3 separate regions of the Homo sapiens genome follow, and all the other regions are linked to region 1. The links are contacts of gene promoters, found by promoter capture Hi-C in blood cells and fetal thymus (Javierre and others, 2016). All regions are on one chromosome and are shown on one strand. Each heading gives the region's core, a stretch centred on a gene start or on the middle of the fragment in contact. The rest is flanking DNA. Distances are from core to core; before and after follow the strand shown.

The links. Contacts are between HindIII fragments. The CHiCAGO score rates a contact against its expected background, and 5 or more counts as called.
Region 2: a contact is called between a fragment that was not itself captured here and the fragment with the promoter of SOX21 in region 1, in 1 of 17 cell types (endothelial precursors). The highest score is 6.8, in endothelial precursors.
Region 3: a fragment that was not itself captured here is called in contact with the fragment with the promoter of SOX21 in region 1 in 1 of 17 cell types (endothelial precursors); the score reaches 5.3 in endothelial precursors.

What each region holds. Positions count from the first base shown.
Region 1 is chr13:94,710,253-94,715,348 of GRCh38, forward strand. SOX21 (SRY-box transcription factor 21) reads right to left here and starts at 2,293. Exons shown (of 1, transcript NM_007084.4): 1 at 1-2,293. The coding sequence starts at 1,797. The coding sequence ends at 967. SOX21-AS1 (SOX21 antisense RNA 1) reads left to right here and starts at 2,464. Exons shown (of 2, transcript NR_046514.1): 1 at 2,464-3,141; 2 at 3,386-5,096. It overlaps LOC112268114 (a long non-coding RNA gene), which reads right to left and starts at 3,191. Exons shown (of 2, transcript NR_158368.1): 1 at 3,156-3,191; 2 at 2,468-3,010. RefSeq lists an enhancer at 3,017-3,518. The HindIII fragment of the contact is 9,809 bases long and covers 1-4,392 here.
Region 2 is chr13:95,171,711-95,176,806 of GRCh38, forward strand. All of the region lies in intron 13 of ABCC4 (ATP binding cassette subfamily C member 4 (PEL blood group)), which reads right to left. Among named protein-coding and RNA genes, the nearest start is that of SNORD13G, 36 kb to the right of the region's middle. RefSeq lists an enhancer at 2,733-3,234. The HindIII fragment of the contact is 169 bases long and covers 2,643-2,811 here.
Region 3 is chr13:94,985,224-94,990,319 of GRCh38, forward strand. No RefSeq gene overlaps it. Among named protein-coding and RNA genes, the nearest start is that of LINC00557, 28 kb to the left of the region's middle. The HindIII fragment of the contact is 784 bases long and covers 2,266-3,049 here.

The DNA of each region.
Region 1 (5,096 bases), core at 1,043-3,542:
CATTTTCCAAGCCTCAATGTTTTCACTGACATATACACATTTACAATCTTAAGGTGAACTCAGCCATAAGGGAAAATAGGAGCAGTGCCTTTTTCCTTTTTTGTAAACTGTGTCAGAAATCCAAGCGAGTGGACTCAGGGAGACTTCTAGTAGTTTGTTGTTGTTGTTTGTTTAGGAAGAAAATCCAATTGACAACTTTCATCTCACAAATATTTCTTGTTTGCGTTTCTTGCCCTTGAGAAAGAGCTCTTGCTCTGATTTGCAAATGGCGTGATAAACAAAAGAAACCGTGATCATCTCACACAAAAGGCCAGATTCGAGCCGGTCACTGGTCAAGAATGGATCTGGTTGGGAGTTCTGCTTGAGAGAACAGAGATCTGCAAAGTTCAAATAGTACAAACAGGGAGGCGAGGCTGCTCAGAGCCATCCCACTCCCAGAAACGAATGACACAAGCAGCTTTTCCCGTGTGCCAGCCATTTCAGACCTCACATTTGAACAGCGTGCATGCAACACGGACCGGGAGGGGGTTGGGGGTTGGGGGGCTGAGGGGCGAGGAAGAAGAATGAGAAACAAAAACAAAACCGACCATGAAACTTCCAACAAAACTGGAAAGGCCAACATGTCAAAAAGTTACTCCTCCACCTCCGTGGGTCAAAACGCAACAGGTTCCGAAGTGCAAAGCAAACGCCAACTGCTGCCGCACACAACCGCCTGCTTTCGAGTTGGCTGCCGAAGTGCGGGTCTGAAATGATCCTGCGAATTCACAGGCCTGCTCGCCCGCGCCCTTGCGCGCTTGGCCACTCCTGCCCCGCCTGGCCTCTCTGCCTCTACCTGGCACCTATACATTCTATGTACATACAAACCGGGCCCCCGGTCGCGGGAGGGCGCACGGGGAGGCCGCAGCGCTCGTACCTATACATATGTACACGTGTGCACACCGGTCCTCGCGAGGCGGCCCCGCGGGGTCATAGCGCGGCAGCGTAGGCCGCGGGGTAGGGGTCCAGCTGGGGCTTGCCCATGCCCGGCAGCAGGATGTAGGCGAGCGGCGGCTGCAGCCCGGGGCTGGGCCACGCGCTGCAGTTGCACGGGATCATGTAGCCCGGGTTGCCCGGGCTGGGGTGCGAGTGCGTGTGCCCCCCGGCGGCGGCGGCCGCCGCTGCAGCCGCCGCCGCCGCGCCGTGGAAGGCGCCCGCGCCCGCGGTCGGGTAGCCCAGCGACGACGCGTACGGGAGGCCGGACGAGGACGACGAGATCTCTGCCATTTTGGAGCCCAGGTCGAGCAGCGAGTAGGGGCTGCCCGCGGCGGCGGCGGCGGCGGCAGCGGCGGCGGCAGCGGCCGACTGCGGGAAGAAGACGCGTGCGGCGGCAGCGGCGGCGGCCGCGGCCGCCTTCTCGGGATTGGCGAGCAGCGACTCAGGCACCAGGCCGCCGCCCGCCCCCGCGTGCAGCCCGGCGCCCGCCTTGAGCGCAGGGTGCTCGGCGTCCGCCACGCCGCCCAGGCCGTAGGGCACCGGGAAGGCGAACTTGTCCTTCTTGAGCAGCGTCTTGGGCTTGCGCCGCGGCCGGTACTTGTAGTCGGGGTGCTCCTTCATGTGCATGGCGCGTAGACGCTTGGCCTCGTCGATGAACGGCCGCTTCTCCGACTCTGTGAGCAGTTTCCACTCGGCGCCCAAGCGCTTGCTGATCTCCGAGTTGTGCATCTTGGGGTTCTCCTGGGCCATCTTGCGCCGCTGAGCCCGCGACCACACCATGAAGGCGTTCATGGGCCGCTTGACGTGGTCCACCGGCTTGGACATGCTCTCGCCCTGCCGCGGCTGCAGCCCGCCGCCTCCCGGGCCCTCGCCCTCGGCCCGGAGGAAATCAATGTTGGCTGCCCGCGGAGACCCGCTCGGCCGGCCGGGGCTCGTCGCGCCCCGGCGTCGCTCCCGCCCCGGAGGAGGGGGCTGGGGGACCAGCCCAGGGCCACGCCGCGCCCCGGGCCGCCTTAGTGTCTCCGGCCGAGCGCTCGAGCAGGTTGTCTCTGGGACACTCTAACTTCTCGGCGGTGCCCCCTCCCCGCGGCGGCAGTTTGCCCTTTACGTTCTTTGGGTCCTTCGTCTGCAGTGGCGTTTGCTGGTGAGCTCCCCGCAGGTAGCGGCGGCCGGGCAGAGCGCTCCTCCTCCTCGGTCGTTCTCTCTTAAATGCAAAGCGTCCCCAAAAGTTGCGTCGCGGAGACTCCTCGAAGTTGAGCCGAGGAGCCCGCCGCCGCGTGCTGCCAAGTGCCAAAGGGGGCTCTCAGCGGCTGGAGTGTTTGGGTTCTCCTCGGTGACTTTCTCATTTGACAGAAGCAGATGGGGGTGGGGAAGGCGGGGAGGTGGCCCTGGAGGAGGAAGAGGAGGGGGAGGCGGAGGAGTGTCCAGGCGTGCCACGAGAACGCAGAGCGCAGCAATGGATATAAATACAAATACAGCAGCACCAGCCTGTCTTCTTGGCTCCGGGCAGGGTGCGCCGATGGGAAACCCCCAATCGGCTGGGTGATTTTTTTTTTTTGGAGGGGGGAGCTGTCCCCCGCAGCACCTGCCTCTCGAGTCTTCCTCTCCCGCTGCTGGACTGACGGGTGGGGCGAGGAAGGAGGGTGGATGAGGCTTGAGCAAGCGTTGGTCGCCCGGCCTCAGAGGAAGTTCTCCCGGCTCGCCGAGGAGCCGCGTCCGGCCGTCCCCTGGGCCATGCCGGCTCTGTTCGCTCCGAGCCCCTTCAGGCGCGCCTGCCGACTTAGGGCTCCCGGAGCTCGCCGGCCGCGGAGGGCAGCGCAGCCTCCACGCGGCGCCGCAGGCCTGGCACCGGCCGCGTCCCCGCCTCGCTCTTCTCGGCAGCCGCCTGGCACTTGCAACTAACTTCGCCCAAGTTTCCTGCGCCGCGGCGCCCCTCTCGGCGCGCTCCTGGGAGCGTGCGCCCGCGAGTCCGCCGCGCCCGGGGCCCCTCTGTCCTCGCTGCTGTGGCCAGAGCCGAGCCGGCGCAGGGGCGGAGGTGCTGCAGGAGAGTTAAGGAAAACGGGCCATCACCTCAGTTCGCAGGTCCGCGCTGTGGCACCTCCCGCTCTCCCCACTCCCGCGGCGCAGGGGGCCCCTTCCCAGCCCAGGCCGCCCTCTGCACCGGCTCAGGTGAGTGTGGCTACCTGCATGTGTGCGCGCCCGGAGCCGGCACTGGGTGTGCATGTCCAGCCGCGGCTGTGTGTGTATATCTGGGGGCCTGCGGAGGAGGTGGAGCCCAGGACTCGGGGAGGGAGGAGGGATCAGCGGAGCCGCCTCCCGCTCCCACACCCCCAGGACCTCGAATTAACAGATCCCCTCCGCCCCCCGCCCCCTCCCAATCCTCCTCCTCCCACTCCTTTTCACTTGAGAGCAGGTTTAGGCGAGTGGAGAGTCCGGAGCGCGCCGGGGAGTCTGCGCCCTGTTTGGCGTTGGCAAACCCTGGTGTCATCCCGGCTACCCAGGCCGGCCTGGCGTGCAGCTGCCCTGGTTGTGGCCCTGGAATCCTCGCCGGGAGGAAGAAGGCGGCGGGCACGAGTAGGAGAGCCTCTCCAGCTACGGAGGAAGAGGGTTAAACCTGGAGAAGGGGAGACTCACCCTTGAAAATGTTTGAGACTGTTCCTAGCAAGAAAGTGCTCATTTTCCTTGGAGGTCCAGGTGTTGCTTGCAACAGAAACAGAGGCTTCTCGCATTTTCTTGCACTGGCGATGCACCTAGTCAGAGGTAGTGGAGTGAAAAATAACTCTGGAGGGAATAAGGACATTCTTGGCAACCTTTCCAAAAAAGAGCTAGCCCAGACTGAGAGTATGCATCCTTGACTGACTATTCAGCTCTTTAAAAATTCTGTGTTGTTTGTCTTTTGTTGTAATCTTGGTCGCCAGAACCATCTATATACTGATCTCTTTAAGGTACAGTTAACTTACAGTGTCTCACTTACATGCGCTGCTGAGGTGAAGGTGTTTAAAATCAATAAGTGTAAGTAGTTTCCCTGGAAGAGAGAAGTAAAACGTACCAATCACTCAGTGCTGGAATATTTTTATGCTAAGCATAATTTCCTTCTTTAGTAGTTAGAGCAGTTTTTTAAAAAAAATAGTTAACACGATGCAGAAGTCAAACAGCATGATTCTGTTTCCGTATTTTCCTCACTTTTTGGTATGCTGCGGCACATTTAGAACATGATCTGTCTGGAGGTTTTATTCACATGGTGGCCTGCCCTTCAGGGAGAACTTGCTTGCCTTCTTTCTTTGGCAGTTTGGATTTGACCTAGCCCTGTGGTATGTGCAAGTAGGAACATCTACAAACGGTTAACTCTTTAAGTCTTCCTACGATTTATGTTCAGTTCATTCACACACACACACACACACACACACACACACACACAAAAGCTTTGATTGTAATTATGAACGTGAATTAAAACTGTTTCAGGCCATCAGATTTATGTAAAAGTTAGGCTTGTTTTGTTCATTTTAATAAAAGAATAGTGACTTAAAAATTACAGTCGTGATAACAAAACTGTGAACAGCAGTGGCATCTATGTGGGTTTTTGTTTTTCTGAAGATGTCGTATTGACAAGCTTATTTTGTATCGGTTATGCCCTTGCATTGTTAAAATAATTGGACTGATTTCTCCAGAACCATATTCCTTTACAGGCTCTGTAAAGACACTCTTGTCATTCACAGACTCTGGCTGGAGCAATGGGAAAACACTAGCATGTGTAATTACATAGACTGGAATATTAAATATACTGTTTTGTGATGATAAACTACAAAATTATCGTCCCTGAGCTTTTCACCTACTGACTTATAGGTTTGAGACAAAAATACTATACACTGGAACATAAAGAACATATGTATATATAGGCCACAAAACATGAAATCTGTTATTCACTAAATATTGTGAATAAAGTTAAATTTAATCGTGAAAATTATTTTGACACATAAAAAGGGAGAAGGATTGTGAAAATGTGTTTTATATTAGTGAGTTAAGTGATTTTATACTATTCAAATTTAAGTGTAAAAATCTACTGCAATAAATTATTACATTAGAAATGTTTGTATATATGATTGAAATGTATGCTTACATGTGCA
Region 2 (5,096 bases), core at 1,477-3,976, 460 kb after region 1:
AAGTCATAAGCAAGTATTTTAGAGACAGTGCCTGTGATCAGAACCACAACTCCAGACTGCAGATATGTAAACTATCACTTCATCCTTTACGTCCAAAAGGATTATTTTTTCCCCTTTCACATATCTTAGTTTGGCTTATTTCAAAACTAAGTTGTTCAATCTAGTATACCTCTTCAGGTTTAGTACTTATACCCCTCTTCAGGTTTAGTACTAAAGCTTTTAATGAAACTGTTTCCCTTTATATCAAGATTGGCTGCCATTAGTCCTTTTATATACATATCTAAAGGGAGATGTTAATGATCAAATCTGATGGGTGCTATGTCCAGTATCAGCCAACTCAAAGGTTTCAAAATGTTTTCTTCCTAACATCTTCCATTGTAGATGAGATAATAGAAATAATTACACTAACATTGTAATTGATGGCTTGAAATTTTTTCTAAATTATGCTTCTTAGGCAAATCTCAAAAAATACTTTCCAAATTATTAAGAGTAAAAATCTTCCAGTCATGCCATAAAACAAACAAATAATAAGTGATTGATGTAGCAATGAGCTATTTAACTCTAATCCTACATAAAGACTACATTAAGAGGCCAGCCACGGGGGCTCACGCCTATAATTCCAGCACTTTGGAAGGCTGAGGCAGACAGATCACTTGAGGTCGGGAGTTCAAGCAACACGGTGAAATCCCATCTCCACTAAAAATACAAAAATTAGCTGGATGTGGTCACCCATGCCTGTAATCCCAGCTACTCGGCTGGCTGAGGCACAAGAATTGCTGGAACCCAGGAGGCCTGCAGTGATCCAAGATCATGCCACTGCACTCCAGCCTGGGCAACAGAGCGAGACTCTGCCTCAAAAAGGAAAAAAAAAAAAAAAAGACAACATTAAGAGCTGACACATACAATGTTGGAGGTGACACAAGTGAGAAAGATATAGTCAGTTGGTGCAGTGGCTCACACCTATAATCCCAGCACTTTGGGAGGTTAAGGCAGGAGGATCTTTTGAACCCAGGAGTTAAAGGCCAGTCTGGGCAACATGGAGAGATCCCATCTCTACAAAAAAACACGAAACTTAGCCAGGAGTGGTGGTGTGCACTTGTAGTCCCAGCTACTCGGGAGGATCACTTGAGCCCAGGAGGTAGAAGTTGCAGTGGGCCGTGATCATGCCATTGCACTTCAGCCTGGGTGACAGGGCAAAACTCTGTCAAAAAAGGAAGGAAGGGATGGAGGGAGGGAGAGAGGGACAGATACAGTCACTACCTTCATTCATTCAGTTAAGATACATTTGCTGAGCACTGACGAAGTACCAGGGACTACTCTAAGTGATGAGGATACATCCACTGGTCAAGCAAACAGACAACACCCTGAGTCGTGTAGGGACACTCACTACACAAACACAGAAAACACACTATTGGATAGTAAAGTAAACCATGAAGAGACAGCCAGGCAAAGGTTGTACTTTAGAGGGAGTGGCCAGGAAAGTCCTCTCTGCAAGGAGGTGATGTATGAGCCATGAGACTATCTGGGGGAAGCATTCCTGGCAGATACAGCAGGTGCAATGGTCCCGGGGCACAAATGCGCTGTGCAAAGGCACCTTCATGCATTCGCAGTCTAGTGCGGGGGCTGGAGGGAAGAACACATAGGTGGATCAAGAGCAGCTCATTGAGGGCTGTGGGAAGACAGAGAAAGCGCCATGCCCTCCGAGGAGCAGAAGAGAAAGGCAGGAGGTAGGATCTGTGTCTTTCATTTTTCTCTTTTGCCCAGGCAAACTATCCCTGGTTGTCCAACGGCAGGAAAAATACCCTTACAGACAGGCAGACGTGAGAAATTCACACCTCCTTCCAGGCACCCCAAAGAAGTGTGCATGGCTGGAGGACTGGTCTTGCATGGCAAGGGTTGGAAAGGTGAATGGGGCAGACTGCAAAGGGCAATTTGCCATTCGAGGACTTAGAACTGTAGCTTAAAAGTAGGGGAGTCCTAGAGGACCTGAAAGAGGGAAGGTGAACTAGTGCTGTGCCTGAATGTTTGTGGCCCTCCCCAAATTCCTACTGAACCCTAATCACCAATGTAATGGTATTAGGAGGTGAGGCCTATTTCATGAGAATCTGCCAACACAAATGGTATTAGTAGAAGGGGCCAGCCCAGGGAAGCTGCCGTACCCCTTCCACAGTGACAAGACAGCTGTCTATGAACCAGAGCGTGAGCCCTCTCCAGGCACCAAAACTGCTGGCGCCTTGATCTTGAATCTTGTCCTCCAGAACTGTAGAAACAATTTTCTATTGTTTATATGGAGTACCTAGTTTATGCTATTTTGAATCAGCAGCCTGAATGGACTAAGACAAATAGGTAGGCAACAGTGTGGGAGATCTGATTAGGAGACTCAAAGAGGCAGGGGTCTGAGAATTTGAGGCTTTCTAGAACACAACCACATCTATAGCAGGCAACAAATTGGATTAGCATCCTTTAATCTAAGTGACCCTCACTTTTTGTATGTGATAAAATCCACTTAGTGTTTGCAACATATAGTTGTAAAACACAACTCTTAACAACTCTCGATATATATTCATGATTGAAGTAAAACTGTTAATGGCAAATAGAAGCGTAATTCATTCACTTTTAATACAAAACACTTCACATTTCTAAGCTTCAACACAACCGCCATCTTTCATAGCATATTGTTCAATCCAATTTTCTAACTCGTTGAGAACATTCTCCAGTTGCTGCTGAGTGATTTCCTAAATTGCATTCGTGCTCCCTGCCCTAAGTTTCCCCAAAGAATGTGATTCTGATTAGCAAACAACAATTTTAACAAGCTTGCTTCTAACAAGCATATATCCAAAGTCATTAATCCTTAAAGGTGCAAGAGGACTTTATAAATACCTCCTGTGTTCAAATGAAAATCTGAGGGAGCTTGTGCGATACGCACACTGATACTCAGCAATGAAAATACCTTCCTCCTTCCCCGCGGCGACTCTAAACAGCGTCCCACCGGGAATTGTTGTTTGAGTGATAAAGAACTGGTGGGGCCTCGCGCAAGACTCAAGCAAGCCACAGAGGCCCTTCTCGGCGAAATGGAAAATTCATCAAGGCACAATGAGGAGGGAGCAGGAAACGAGGCTCTGATCAGACTGCTGCGGCAATGCCAAGTGCCAGCTTATCCTGCACTCTGCATTCAGAAAGATTCAATGCTGCCATCCACGTTTTTTTTGGTTGTGGAAAAATAGACAAGACATAACATTTACCATTTACACCATTTTTAATTGTATAGCTTGGTCGCGCTAAGTACATACACACCATTGTGCAACCATCACCATCATACACATCCACTTCATCATCCCATACCAGGCACATTTTGCATACGCACTCTGGTGGGTAAACGTTCAGGAACCCACGTAGAGCCCCATGCTCAGTGGATGACTTCATGTCCAAACCCCTGGAATCCAGAGCCCAGAGATGAGTTACTCTCACACAGCCGACTCGCTATCCACTTTGCTATCCAGGACTTGTTATGGACTGAACCATGCTCCCCTCAAAGTTCCTATGTTCCAGCCCTCACCCTAGCACCTTAGAAATTGAACAGAGAACCTTTTTTAAAATTTTTTTTTTATTATTATTATTTTTGAGACAGAATCTCACTCGTCATCCAGGCTGGAGTGCAATGGCGCTATCTCGGCTCACTGCAACCTCCACCTCCTGGGTTCAAGCAATTCTCCTGCCTCAGCCTCCAGAGTAGCTGGGATTACAGGCACCCGCCACCATCCACCACTGATTTTTGTATTTTTAGTAGAGATGGGGTTTCACAACGTTGGCCAGGCTGGTCTCGAACTCCTCAGGTGATCTGCCTGCCTCGGCTTCCCAAAGTGCTGGGATTACAGGCATGGGCCACAGTGCCCGGCCAACACAGAACCTTTAGAGAAGTAATTACACTAAAATGAGGCCATGAGGGTGGGCCCTACTCTAATCTGACTGGTGTCTTTTCAGGAAGAGGAGATTTGGATACAGAGACACAAGGAGAAAAGGGTGAGAAGGCAGCCATCAGCAGGCCAAGAAAGCCCTCGGGAGGAGCTGCACCTGCAGATGCATTGATCTCACACATGCAGTCTCCAGAACTCTGCAGAAACAACCTGCCGCTGTGGAAGCCCCCCAGCCTGTGGCATTTTGTGAGGGCAGCCCTGGCTGGCCAACACAGGACTTCCAGAGCTTTCTCTCACGGTACCTTCTCTATCCCCCACCACAGGAACAGGTGCCTGCCTGCTGTCCTTCCCACAGGCCTCACTCCTTCCCGTCTGCACACCTCTGCTTCTACTATTTCTTTCAAAGGAATTGAATCCTACTCTCAGCCACCACAAACCCTTACCAGCCTGCAGGACCACAGGCTACTTCCAGCCAAGCCCGGCCCTCAGTGACCTTTCCAATCTCTGCTGCCCACTTCTTCCATTTAAAAAAAAAGATTGTCGTATGCCAGGTGTAGGGGCTCACACCTGTAATCTCAGCACTCCAGGAAGCCGAGGGCAGGGGGGGGGGGGGGGGGGGGGTGGATCCCTTGAGCCCAGGAGTTCGAGACCAGCCTGGGCAACATAGGGAGACCAGCCTAGACAACATGGCAAAGCCCCCTCTCTTCAAAAAAACACTGAATGAGCTGGGCATGGTGGTGCTAGCCTGTAGTCACAGCTACCCGGGAGGCTGAGGCAGGAGAATCTCTTGAACCCAGGAGGTCGAGGCTGCAGTGAGCTGAGAATGCACCACTGCACTCCAGCCTGGGCAACAGAGCGAGATCCTATCTAAAAAAAAAATAATAATAAAATAGATTGTCCTATATTGAAATCCCCTAAGCCTTGGGGTCTGTTGAACTTTTCCCATGCACTTAGTCTTGATCCATGCAGAGACAAATTCCTTATGGGCAAGAATGAAATCTGAACTTGTCTCTCTCTCACTCAGCCCAGCATGGGTGCTTATCTTCTCTGTGGCTGACTGCCCTCCTCTGCAAGCGAAGATGTTTCATGCAGTAGCATCTGCAGGAGCATCTACCTCAGTGTGCGCAGAAGGGTTACAATGAGTGGGAAAGGCTCACTGACTTTAACAAGGCGAAAAACAGG
Region 3 (5,096 bases), core at 1,408-3,907, 280 kb after region 1:
TCCATACTGTTTCCCATAACGGATGCAGCAATCTATGTTCCCCTCAACAGTGTATTAGGGTTCCCTTTTCTCCAGACCCTCACCATTTGTTATCTCTTGTCTTTTTGAGAATAGCCATCTGTATAGATGCGAAGATTTTTAAATGTGGTATATATGCACAATGGAATATTATTCAGCTTCAAAAAAGGAGAGTCTGCCATTTGCCACCACATGGATGGATCTGGAGGACATTATGTTAAGTGAAATAAATCAGACACAGAAAGAAAAATATTGCATTATCTCACTTATATGTGGAATATATATATTTTTTAAAGCACTCAAATGCACAGAGAGAGAGAGAGTTGTTATCATGAGAGGGGTGTCAGGTAGGGACAGGAAGGAAATGAGAGATCTAGTTTAAAGGATACAAAATAGCAGATATGTAAGATAAACAAGTTTAGAAGCCTAATGTACCACATCAGCACTAAAGTTAATACAGTTATATTGTATTATATTTCTAACACTAACGTTTTTGCTTTTGAAGCATTATTTACCCTGGATCTTAAATTTCTATAAGTTGTGATTATGCTATTAAGATTGGATTTGTTCTTATATAGAGATTACCCTTATTCTCTAATAACACTATTCAATAAATATCAAATAGAAACTACTGTTTAAAAAAATAAACAAAAAGCTCAGATGAAGCAGAAAGTATAACCTGGCAAGATGAAGCCAGGTTATACAATTATATTGTGTTAGGGATTTTTGTTAAATAAGTATATTTTAACATCATGTTCTAAACCTCAAATATATACAATATTTGTTAAAAAATTAAAAATAAAAAGATAGGGCTGGGCATGGTGGCTCACACCTGTAATCCTAGCACTTTGGGAGGCCAAGATGGGTGGATAACCTGAGGTCAGGGGTTCGAGACCAGCCTGGCCAACGTGGTAAAACCCTGTCTCTACTAAAACTACAAAAATTAGCTGGACATGGTGGTGGGGGCCTGTAATCCCAGCTACCTGGGAGGCTGAGGCAGGAGAATCACTTGAACCCGGGAGGCAGAGGTTGCAGTGAGCCGAGATGGGGCACTGCACTCCAGCCTGGGTGAGAGAGTGAGACCCTGTCGCAAATAAATAAATAAATAAAAATTTTAAAAAGATAGAATAGGAAGTAATAGTAATAATGCATGCTAATTACCTACACCTTTTAATTAATGGAGTTGTTTATCAGGCTTCCAATATCCAGGCAGGAGTCTCTTCTATTCTTTTTGGAGGCGTACTATCTTGCAAATTTAGTGTTAAGTGTGGAATGAACCCAGTGATCTCCACGTAATTCATAGGAGCCCTCCTAAGCCTAAAGATTCAGTTTAATTGAAGATGTTAATAAGATGTATATTTTGCCAGTGTCGGGCTCTGTCACCCAGACAGGAGGGCTGGAGTGCAGTGGTGTGATCACAGCTCACTGCAGCCTCAATCTCCTGGGCTCCAGCAATCCTCTCACCTTAGCCTCCCAAAACAAACAGCTGGGACTACAGGTGCATGCACTACATCCAGCTTTTTTTTTTTTATTTTTATTTTTTTTAGAGACAGGGTCTTGCTATGTTGTTCAGGCTGGTCTCAAACTCCTAGCCTCAAGCAATCTGCCCGCCTCAGCCTCCCAAAGTGCTGAGATTATAAGCAAGAGCCACCACACCTGGCCAACCTGGTCTTTGATGTTGCTTGATCTTTTCACAGAACTTGCTGTCTTGACTTTGGCCGTTTTCAACGGTGTGACATGGAATGAATTAAAACTATCTTGGGTGAATGTGCAGGAAACAAGTCAGATCTTTCTAAACACTTACTTCTATAAATACAGGAATTAAATTGTTTTCCTCCTGAAGAGGTCTACTGAAAGAGGCTCAATTTAATTCAGATTATTTCTATTCAAATCAATATAAAATAACTTTTGGCCGGGCGCAGTGGCTTATGCCTGTAATCTCAGCACTCTGGGAGGCCAAGGCAGGTAGATGTGCTGAGAGAGGGCAGTCCTCTCCTGTATGAATGATTGAGTCCCAGAAACTTTGAATGGAGGCTTGCCAAGAGATTCCGCACTGTAACTCTGTCCATTCCGCACTGTAACTCTGTCCTCAAATGCCCACCAGGTAGAGGGTGTGGCCTGGAAAAACGTTTGCACATAATCATTTTCCATTCAGTCATCATAATAAGTACAGTTCCCACAGTTGGTTGATTAGGGTTGTTTGGGCCACTGCAAAAGGGTTCTGCTTCTGCCTGAAAATGATCCCTAAGCTTCCTTTCTGGTCTTCCCCTTCTGTCCTGATCATGAAGCAAGCTAGCAGTCCTGGAACACTTTATGAGTTTCCTAAGGGTACTGTAACAATTGATCATGAATCTGATGGCTTGAAACAACGGAAATTTATTCTCTCACATTTCTGGCCAACATGGCGAAACCCCATCTCTGCTAAAATACAAAATTAGCCAGGTGTGGTGGTGCATGCCTGTAATCGCAGCTACTTGGGAAGCTGAGACAGGAGAATTGCTTGAACCTGGGAGGTGGAGGTTGCAGCAAGCCGAGATCGCGCCATAGCACTCCAGCCTGGGCAACAAGGGTGAAACTCTGTCTCAAATAAATAAATAAATAAATAACTTTTTAGGTACATACTATTTTTCAGGTGTTTGAGGAATGAATGGATTCATTAAAAGCCTAGATGGCCAAATCAGGCACTTCAGTTTAGTAGATCATAGAATCCCAGACTTTAAAAGCTGGAAGGAACAGTAAACAGCTAACTAGATCTGTGATTTATAGGTGAGTAAGCAGAGGCCATAGTTAAGCAATGACACATGTTAAAAGTCAACAGCTAGTAAGTCAGCTTGAACCAAAATCTCAGGCCCACACCAAGTCCAGGGATCTTTCCATAGGTCAGTCCTCCTTTTATATCTTGAGTAAAATCTGTCTTGTGTGAAGTCACCCTTCTAACTGTGTTTTAAACTCTCTGCTAATAGGGCCATGATTAACAATGACATATCCACTCAATGGAGTATTACGCAGCCATTAAAGATAATATTTATGAAGCTTGTGTAATAACATAGAAGAGTGGCCAGGGAGTAACAATACGGGAAGAAGCAGGAAATAAAGCTGCATGTATAGCTTAATGGCAATGCTATTAAAAGCCTTTACATAGAAACAAAAAGTGGAAAAAAATTAGAAAGTTATTTGCACTTATATTTGAATGGTGAGGCTAGCAAAAATTGTTTCCCCTATTCCTACTCTCCAATATTTTAAAACCTTTAGAGATATACACACTTTTAAGGTGGAAAAGTGAAAACAACTCTTCTGCCATATTCAAAGATAGTTAAGCCAAAGCCCTTTTGCTGTGGGTCTGAAGATGTTTCTAGAGCAGAATAAACACTCAAAACCAGAGACAAGCAAACCATCCACTGGAGGAGTTGGAGTGAGGGCACGAGTGGTGCTCTCCTGAGCTTTCTTTTGCAGGGAGACTGGGAGGGTATGAAGTAGTCGGGTCATTGGAGGCAGGAGGGCTTTCTCCACCCAGTGTTCAGTCTGAGCCATGGAAAAGAAGAGTGATTAAAAGGCACAACAGAGAGAAGCTCTCCCTAACACCAACCAACAAAGATCCTCTCCCAGCACCAGGGAGCAGACTTGAGCAACAAGCTCACTTGTGCGTGCACAGTACAAGAAGGCTCCTGACCCTAAGAAATGAAAGAGCCTAATTAAAATGGGGAAACCCTATGCTTCACTGCACCACTCAGCTACTCATTTAAATCACTATTATGAAATATGTATGAACTCTATTTCTCTGCAAATGCTGATCTAGAACACCTTTCCTGGATCACCCCTTTCAGTAAATACAGCATATTCCCACTAGAATCTACCTTAACAACTATGTTGAGGCATAAATGAAATAAACTGCACATATTTAAAATATGCATTTTGAAACATGCATTTTGAAGTTTTGATTTGTTTATACACCCATGAAACCACAGCCACTATTAAGATACCAACATTTTCGTCATTCCAAGTTTCCTTGTGCCCTTTCCCTTCAACTCTGTCTAAACCCTTCCACCACCCCCAGGCAACCATTCATCTGCTTTCTGTCACTATAGATTCTTTTTCATTTTCTAAATATGTATACAAGTGGAATTACATAGTATGTATTCTATGTCTGGTTTCTTTAACTCAGAATAATGGCTTTGATATTCATTCAAGTTGTTAAGGGTATCAGTTGGTGGTTTCTTCTGATTGATCATCAGCATTCCGTTGATCAGTATTCCATTGATCCATTAATTAATGATCTATAATATTTTGAAGGTATTACAAATTAAGCTGCTGTAACAATTCATTACAAGTCTTTGTGTGGACAAATGTTTTTATTTATCTTGGGTAAATAGCTAGGAGTGGAATAGCTGAGTTCCATACCTGTTAGGTGTATGTTTAACTTTTTAACTAAATACCAAACTGTTTTCCATTTTACATAGGCACAGCAGTGGTTGAGAGTTCCGGTTGCTCCACATCCCTGCCATCACTGGGTATATTCAGTCTTTAGCCACTCTGGGGGGGTACCTATGGATATTTTATTGTGGATCACACTTCTACATCCCATCCCAGTCTCTCTATAACAGAAAGCCCAGAGGAAGCCTTCTAGCACCCCCACTCCAACTTCTTGAGTGGACGGTTTGCTCTTCTCTGTGTTTGAGTGTTCATTCCGCTGCAGACACATCTTTAGACCCACCACAAAAGGGCTCTGCTTCTGCCTGAAAATGATCCCTAAGCTTCCTTTCTGGGCTTCCTCTTCTGTCTTGATCATGAAGCACGCTAGCAGTCATGGAACACTTTGAGTTTCCTAAGGCTGCTGTAACAATTGATCATGAATCTGATGGCTTGAAACAATGGAAATGTATTCTCTCACATTTCTGGATTTCAAAAGTATGAGATCAAGGGGTCAGTAGGGTTGGTTCCTTCTGGAGGAGAATCTGCCATGCCTTTTCTAGATTCTGGTGTTCCATGGCTTGTGGATACATCACTCCAATCTTGCCTCTGTCTTCTCAGAGGCTTCTTCTGTGTGTCTGTGTCAAATCTCTCTCTGCCTCTCTTATAAG